2 separate regions of the Homo sapiens genome follow, and region 1 is linked to region 2. Evidence: promoter capture Hi-C in 16 types of primary human blood cells and fetal thymus (Javierre and others, 2016). All regions are on one chromosome and are shown on one strand. Each heading gives the region's core, a stretch centred on a gene start or on the middle of the fragment in contact. The rest is flanking DNA. Distances are from core to core; before and after follow the strand shown.

Region 1 (4,221 bases), core at 363-2,862, 940 kb after region 2:
AGGCACTGAGCCACACACACACACCAGGCTCAGAGGTCTGGACACAGGAGTAATGAGTTGAGTAATCCCTGTCCTTTTTTGCCATGACAATGAGATCGATAATCCAAGACTTACAGAACTGGATGATGTGAACTATAGTCTGCCTAGAAATATTGGTCTTAACCACTTTCAGGAAGACTAAAATGACCACACACATATACAAAAAAGTCTAATGCTTGTAAATCTGTTTTTAGAGTACCAGATTCCTAAGCTGCCATATCTTCTGAGATAATATCCAACTCCAAAGCTGAGCTTCCAAGAGGGCCTTGTATGAATATGGAACTAAGAGGCACACTGGCTGCAGACCTGACTTCTCTCATGTACTGTTTCTGTTCATTTTCTTTTTAAAGAAAATATCGTATCACAAAAGGACAAATGTCATGTGATTCCACTTATATGAGGCACCTAAAGTAGTCAAATTCAGAGACAGAAAGTATAACAGAGGTTGCCAGAGGCTGGGGGAAGGGAGAATGAGAAGTTATTATTTAATGGGTGTGGCCAATATTGCCAAGGAAATAGACGTCAGTCTACAGATCAGTTAGTGTTTACATTTTCAAAATTCAACCTAATGTTTATTAGGCTAAAGATTATGTTATCTTGAATTAAGACTCATAATACAACAAAGGTTTAGCCTCCCATCCTGGGTGAACCTCTGGGATTTCTTAACCTCCTTTTGATTTTCTGGCATCACTGAAAGCCGACATATAAACAAACCAGTGTAACACAATCACTGCCCAATGTATTGGTGGTCTTTGGCAAACATGAAGAGTGGGCATTAACGAATGATACTAGACAGTTCTCTTCCCCTGCAAAGACATGTGGACTTCAAATAGGAAACATCAGCATACAGCAATTGTCAGACTCCCAGGTCAGCATGTTTGTTTGGAAAGAGCTCTAGAGTGAAGACCGAAAGACAGGGTTCTGGCTCCAGCTCACCTACACACTTGTCGGACCTCGGCAAATGGAGTGAGTTCTCTGGGCCTTTGCTTGCTCCTCTCTAAAACAGGGACTCAATAGGTGATCTCTAAAGTCCTTCCGTGATCATTCTGTGACCTGGGCCCAATACCGCTCCAGGTCTACCACAGCCGTGGTGTGGAGTGCTATTCATAACTACATAACTGAGAAACTTTCAAAGGAGATTTAATTGTACTAAGACTACCATGCAACCAAATAAAATAATTAGACTGCTACTTTCTCCTTCTGGAGTAATCTGATATTCAGGATGAGAGATTTAACATAGGATTTTATATATCAAAACAAAAATAAAATTGGAAGGAACAATATACAAGAATTTTTGTATAAGGAAGCCTTCTTAACATCTACCTTTCTTTTTAAACGGTCATCACGTCGTTCAGTACCAAAAAATGGTGTCCACCTCCTCAGATTTTTTTGTTGTTGTTGTTGTTTTATTTTGTTTTTGAGACGAGTCTCCCTGTCACCCAGGCTGGAGTGCAGTGGTGCGATCTTGGCTCACTGCAAGCTCTGCCTCCCGGGTTCATGTCATTCTCCTGCCTCAGCGTCCTGCGTAGCTGGGATTACAGGCGCCCACCACCACACCCAGCTAATTTTTTGTATTTTTAATAGAGACGGGGTTTCACTGTGTTAGCCAGGATGGTCTCAATCTCCTGACCTCGTGATCTGCCCACCTCGGCCTCCCAAAGTGCTGGGATTACAGGCGTGAGCCACTGCGCCCGGCCCACCCCCTCAGGTTTTCTAATGACACTACCAATATATAGAAAACAGAGGCAACGCTTATGAGCCTCTTATAACTGAATGAAAGATCAAGGTGCTTGTTATACAGACGACATATAGGGAAGCCTGATGTAGGAAAAAAAAATGAAAACTTCTAAAATTCCTTTCTGTTTTCATCTGAAAATTTGCCCTCAGAAATGAGAATAATGAAAAATTGCAAGTATCGTTTTATAAATGATGAGTTGCATGTGTTTTTATTGTTAATTTTGTGTGACGAAAACTGTTTCACTTCCAATGTTCATATACTGCTACCTGGCTATACTCTGCAAAAGGATTTATGAAAAAGATCTTCATAAAAAAAGTCTATAGTACCAGCCAGTACAGCCCTTTTGTGTGGAAAGGCACTAAACAGAACTCCCCAGTGCAAGAGCAAAGGGCATTTTTCTCTTCAGGCGACACAGTGATTTCCTCCAAGAAAAGAAGAATTGAATAACCGCTTTGATTCTGAGTTTCCGCTCATGGACTTCTGATCTACACTGGTCCTTTTCCTCCACATTGTTCCTGGAGAAACTGGCAGTAGACTAGACCTTGGCTCCAGCATCCTTTCATTCTTACGGAGATGAGAAACCAGGGACTCATTGCCCTACTTTCTTAAAAAGCCCAGGGCAAAGAAATGGATGAACTCACCTAGAGATTCTGATATTGGAAAGAAGTTGCAATCTGTCCCATGACAGTTTTATGAGAAGTTCAATCTACCCCAAGAGTCTGAAAGAACCCATATTGTGTTATTAAAAGCAATGGTTCGAATCTACCTGAATTCAACATAAAGCTATGCTTTTGTTAAAAGAATGTTTTAGGCCAGGCGCGGTGGCTCACGCATGTAATCCCAGCACTTTGGGAGGCCAAGGCAAGGAAATTGCTTGAGGCCAGGAGTTCAAGACCAGCCTGGCCAACATGGTGAAACCCCTTCTCTACTAAAAGTACAAAAATTAGCCAGGCATGGTGGCGGGTACCTGCAGTCCCAGCAACTGTGGAGGCTGAGGTGGGAAAATTGCTTAAACCTGGGAGGCAGAGACCGCAGTGAGCCAAGATCGCACCACAGCACTCCATCCCGGGCGACAGAGACCCTGTCTCAAAAAAAAAAAAAAAAAAAAAAAAAAAAAAAAGAACATTTTATAAACTATGTCAATCAAAACTAAATTCTTGTTAGTTCTATATTTTCATGGCAATGAGCCTGCAGACCCTGTGAAGGCATTACAAACTATGCACGTGCTGAAACTTGGAGCTTATCTGCAAGCTAATGAAGACATGTTGGTCTTTTATTATCCCTTTTATTACCAAAATGGGGTGACCGACTTTATTATACAAAAGCCATATAAGTCCTTTGCAGAGTCAGAGACTAACTCTGTCACTTATTTGCTATGAATGTGGGCATTTTTTACTTACATGAGCCTCGATTTCAACAAACTGAGAACAATGTCTACCTTCAAGGTGAGAAATAAACTAATATTCATAAAGTATTCCCAACTGTGCCTGACACACGAAATCTCCAGCAAACAGCAGCTGCTGCCAGCATCACATCATCACTCCATGGTGCAAGTCATTTTGAAATGATCACATGATTTGAAAATATTACCAAACTAAATGTCTTTCCAAGTGCAGCAAAGATATCCAGATGTTTCCTGGGTCACCTGAAGTCACCATTATTAACCCAATAAATGGCCAGAGACACTTAAATCCTCTCTAAGTGAAGAATGAAGAGGTCTTTCTAGTTCTGATTCTATAACATTAACTAAGGGTTGTCTGGATACCACCCTTAAGTAACAAAATATTACAAAGCAATCATACACCAGATACTTCATTTTAAGACAGAAATGGTGTCTGAAAACCAGAAGAAAAAAATTTACCAAGTTCTTTCATAAGCAGACTATTATTCTTATCCTCAAATAACTAAAAATTATCTGCTAAAACCATCGAAGTAGTCATTTCTTGAGTATACTTCTTTGGAGTCCAAATATGACACCACTAAGGGAATCCTCACAATGGGAAACAGTTGCCATGAGTGATGAGAACACCAAGAATGCTCAGCTCAGAGGCAGCATTCCGTCTCTGCTCTGCCTAATAATAGCTGCTGGAGCTACTTCCAGCCACTTAGGCCTCTGAGTCTCAGATGCCTCATGTATAACACCACCTACTCTACAGGGTTGTTTTGTAAATCAGAAATGAAATAAAACGATGATAAAGCTTTTTATCATCCGTAAAGTAATATAACTGTTGTCAGGTGTGGTGGGTGCTGGAGCCATCCTCCTGGTGAAAGCCAGTTGATAAACTTTCAAGAATTTTGTGAGCCACTTGTTAAACCAGAAATAGCTGGAAATCAGCCACAGTGGGAGATTTACACTATGGAAATGGCCAGACGTTGCCAATCAGGACTTTTTTTTCCTGGAGAACTGGTTCCTAAGCATTTAACAGCACACTATTGGTCCTAGT
Region 2 (4,245 bases), core at 756-3,255:
GTCAACAACAGCATCCTGTTGGAAAACACATGGACTTTGGATTTTCATTTCCACATTTCCTCCCAGAATATTTGTAGGGGTAAGCCTTTCTGGAATAATGGAATTTGCAGGACTCACAACTTCTTCCAATGAAACATTATTGATTCTATTTTTACTACAATCAACTGTCTTTTTTTCAGTTGCATATTTCAGTTTAGTTTCTTTACTTGTGCTGGGCTCATCAAAAACTCCACTGATTTGTCTTGAGGTATCACTATTTTCAGTGAAAGATGCATCTGAATCTAAATACTTATCTTCAGGCAGTTGTGGCTTCTGACTTTGTTCTGCAGAGCTTAATAGTTTAACTTTGGATGACGGAATTCTGAATTTTGTACCCAACATTTGTGATTGTCTTTTTCTATATAGTTCTCTTTTTTCATGTACCACCAACATATCAGGATTTGTCAGCTTTAAACGTAGTCTTAGTGTATTTGTTAAGCCATAAAGTAGCCTCCCTTTTGGAACTCTTTTATGGAGGGCACCACTGCTCTTTTCAGAATATTTATCTTCCTTATAGTTTTCAATTTGGTTCTTTTTATACTGAAGACTCACTGACTTTTCACATCCCCCCACAGAACGCTTATCCTTCTTGGCTTCAGACCGGCATGTGGATTTGGCAGAAGATTCGGGTGACTTCTTATCCTCAGTCCTATATAACCAGGCTAGGTGAGGATGTATATGAGCAGGACTTGTCACAGGTTGGTCATATAACAAGGACAACTCAACTAACAAAGCATTTAACAAAGGCAACTGCCTTATTGTATTAATTCGATTTTGTTCAGTTTGACATGTTTGATTAGTTGCTCCTATATTCTGAATATGTGGAGGATTTACAAGCATTGGAGGATGTTCGTGTGCTGCAGAACTTGGATGCTTTAGACAACTCCTGTGTGCTGGGGGATTTACACGCTTTTTTTCAGGAGAAGCATCATCCATTTCCTCAGGTGCATTCATTTGAGGCTCAATGGTGATTTTAGCCTGTGCAGGGGGCGGTTTTTCTTGGGTCAAGTTAGTGTAATACAAAGGAGGAGGGCAAAATATATTGGTCTCCATGTCCAATTCTGTGACTTCCTCATTTAGGGAGCTAACATTTCTCCCATTGCCAGCACCTGAACATGTAACAACAGAATTGGTTTTGCCATTCTCCACAGAACCCACATTATCACATTCGGCCTTACTTTTAACCATTTCCTTCAAATCCTTCTGTGCCTCTGGGATTTCTAACTCCCCCAGCGGCTTATCAGCCTCTTTTGGGCTTGGCTGTGAGGCTGGCTGCTGCAGCTGCTGTCTTTCCTGCTGGGTTTGGGGACTGACCTCCGCTCCTCCTCCTGTGCGGGTGAAGGTGAGGGGCCGCTCAAGTTGGCTCAGCAGGCGGCTTCCCAGGTCAGTCAGGCGGTAGGCCAGTGCAATGTCCCCAGTCCGCTCGCCCACTCGATTATGCAGGGGGAAACGTCCCCGGTGACGGTGGGAGCATCCGGAGGCGGCCGGCCCCACGACCCTGTGCGCTGCGGTGGCCAGCGAAATGTCGCAGGCCCCCAGGAGCTGTGGGGTGGGCGTCGGGCGCCCAGGGGGCAGCTGCAGCAGCAAGGTGGCAAGCGGGGTCCGCAGGAGCCGGCAGTGCAGGGTAGCAGGCTGCAGGCGGAAGAGGCAGGACTTGCCGCGACCGAAGCGGATGACACCGGGCCACGGTTCGGCGGCGGGAGCGCCGGGGCCGTCAGGAGGGTAAACCAACAGCGTGGGGAAGTCCAGCAGGCGGAAGGCCACGGCGGGGCACAGACCGCGCGGCGACGAGGCCTCCCCCTGCTCCTTTTCCTCCTCTTCCTCCTCCTGCTCCACTGCGGCAGCGGGGGACGGCAGCAGCCGGGCTTCCAAACGCACCCAGTCCACCAGCAGCTCCAGCGAGAAGAGCCGCTCGGACAGCGAGGCCGCCATTGCTGTTGCCCCAGGAAACGCCGCCGCGGGCTCCGCAAACGAGAAGCTGAAGCCCCGGGGTCTCACGAGAAACCGGAGCAAAAGGCATCGCTGCCTGCTATCTCGCGAGATTTGCGGAAGCGCTCCAGCGGGTCTCGGGCGGTGTCTGCTTTGGGGGTTTTGCTGCTCAATGTGTTTGGCCCCTTTGTATGCATACTTGTGAGCCGTTTTTTGCCACCAACCTTGTATTAAGACAATTGATGATAATGCTGAGGATATAAGTGGTAAAAGACAGTGAGTTTTTTGGGTAATGGTTTTATCACTGCAGATCTTATGTAACTTGGGGGTCAGATCAATATACCTGAGGAATATTGAAAGAAAATCAGGACTCTCCTTCCTTTCCCATGCTAAACAGAGCCAGTTAGTTAACTGTCCACAGTGGGCCATCTCTGTGTCTGCTGTTCTACCCAAAAGATGGTGACACTGCTGGGATGGCCAGGGAGCCCCTGCCTCATCAATTACAGTAGTACTGAGACAGACACACCACACACACACGGAGTGTGAATACACTGGCAAAAACTCTCCTTGGCTGAACTTTGGTCAGGCTCATCTAAGCCTTCTTTCCGACTAGGCCTTGACCTTGGCTTCCAATCCTGTGGACCCTGGATCACCGAGTTGTAGCAAAGGTCTCGCTACGGCTGTTGAGAGAGAACCCCCAACCCTTCATACCTGATTACCGTCGATACCTGATCAAATTCTTCATTTTCTATCATTGGTATCTGACCACCCTGGCCTGGCTTCAGCAAGAATCCTATTAGGCCTGCTTAATCAGAACCCTCCCACCCGTGATGTTCCCTATCAGTAAGTTTCCATCCACTTGACCTGACGCCCCCTTGGCTTTAAATCCCCACTTGTCCATGCTGTAATTGGAATTGAGCCCAGCTCTGTATTGAGGTCTCTTTTCTCTTATTGCAGTAGTTCCTGACTACAGTGTTTTTGCCACTTCAACTACTGTCTGGCCCTGTTTTTTATTTGACAACATTTCCAGCTAAGCAATCATGATGCATGAGAGTAATGTTAATGATTCCATCAATAAAACAAATGTGTGTACATAAATATACACACATCTACAGAGACACACAGAACTTGCTGCTCTATCCAGATATTTTAAGAAACATACTCCTAACCTCAATGAGCTAGCCAGCTAGGAATCCAAGGCCAGTTTTTGGAGAGCCTTGAATGCCATGGTAAAGAATTTGGACTATATTCTGTCCAAATTTTTTTGATTGAATAAGTACATCATAGCAATATTTGGAAATGTATCATGGGGAGGAATACAAAGGATGGATTCTACTAATTAGAAATTGGATTCAGAGCAATCTATTAGAAGACTACTGCAGTGGTCTAAGAGGCAGATAATTATGACCTGCACATGGTCAGGACTAGTGGAAATTAAAAAGAGGTGGCAGAAGAGGCATTTGTGATGGAGGAATTTTAAAATTTGGTGAATGGGAAAGAAAAGTCATGGGTGAAAAACTTCTGCTACTGAAGGTGAAAATATTGAGGAGGCACAGATTTGACGGAAAAAAATACTTTGAGTTTTGAGATATGTAAAGCTTGAGGTACCTGCTGCTGGGCATTATATATGTACCGCTTTATTCAGCTTTATAAATTATAGTTAAATTATATTGCTTCAGTGCTCAGAAGAACATTGTGAAGCTCAAGAGAAATTCAGAACTGGAGGGATATGATGCTTTAGTGTGAAGACGTGAGAGAGAAGTCTCATTGCAATATATAAATACAAGATACTTCTCGGACCAGATGCGGTGGCTCACGCCTGTAATCCCAGCACTTTGGGAGGCCGAGGCAGGCAGAACACGAGGTCAAGAGATCGAGGCCATCCTGGCCAACATGATGAAACCCCGTCTCTACTAAAAATACAAAAATCAGCTGGGTGTGGTGGTGCATGCCTGTAATCCCAGGTACTTGGGAGGCTGAGGCAGGAGAATCGCTTGAACCAGGGAGTTGGAGGTTGCAGTGAGTGAGCCGAGATCGCACCACTGCACTCCAGCCTGGTGACAAAGCGAGACTCCATCTAAAAAAAAAAAAAAAAATTACAAGATACTTCTCTTGGCTTTGAGAATCTTGCTATATACTTGCAGAGGACACATATCAAGCAACATCCTCAATGGATAGATGATGTAGAGCAATAAAAAAAAGACATCATCACAAGTGAAAAGCAATGAGGTATTGAGTCCATGTGCGCCAGAGAAATACAGTAGACAAAATTCCTCT

What was found. The method cuts DNA at HindIII sites, captures the fragments that hold promoters and counts their contacts. A CHiCAGO score of 5 or more calls a contact.
Region 1: a fragment that was not itself captured here is called in contact with the fragment with the promoter of MAP10 in region 2 in 2 of 17 cell types (naive CD8 T cells and naive CD4 T cells); the score reaches 5.9 in naive CD8 T cells.

What each region holds. Positions count from the first base shown.
Region 1 is chr1:231,861,897-231,866,117 of GRCh38, reverse strand. The region is part of intron 9 of DISC1 (DISC1 scaffold protein); the gene reads right to left. All of the region lies in intron 12 of TSNAX-DISC1 (TSNAX-DISC1 readthrough (NMD candidate)), which reads right to left. Among named protein-coding and RNA genes, the nearest start is that of DISC2, 45 kb to the right of the region's middle. The HindIII fragment of the contact is 4,730 bases long and covers 1-3,977 here.
Region 2 is chr1:232,803,176-232,807,420 of GRCh38, reverse strand. MAP10 (microtubule associated protein 10) reads right to left here and starts at 2,005. Exons shown (of 1, transcript NM_019090.3): 1 at 1-2,005. The coding sequence starts at 1,971. RefSeq lists enhancers at 1,016-1,612, 1,822-1,901, 1,613-2,210. The HindIII fragment of the contact is 4,755 bases long and covers 1-3,568 here.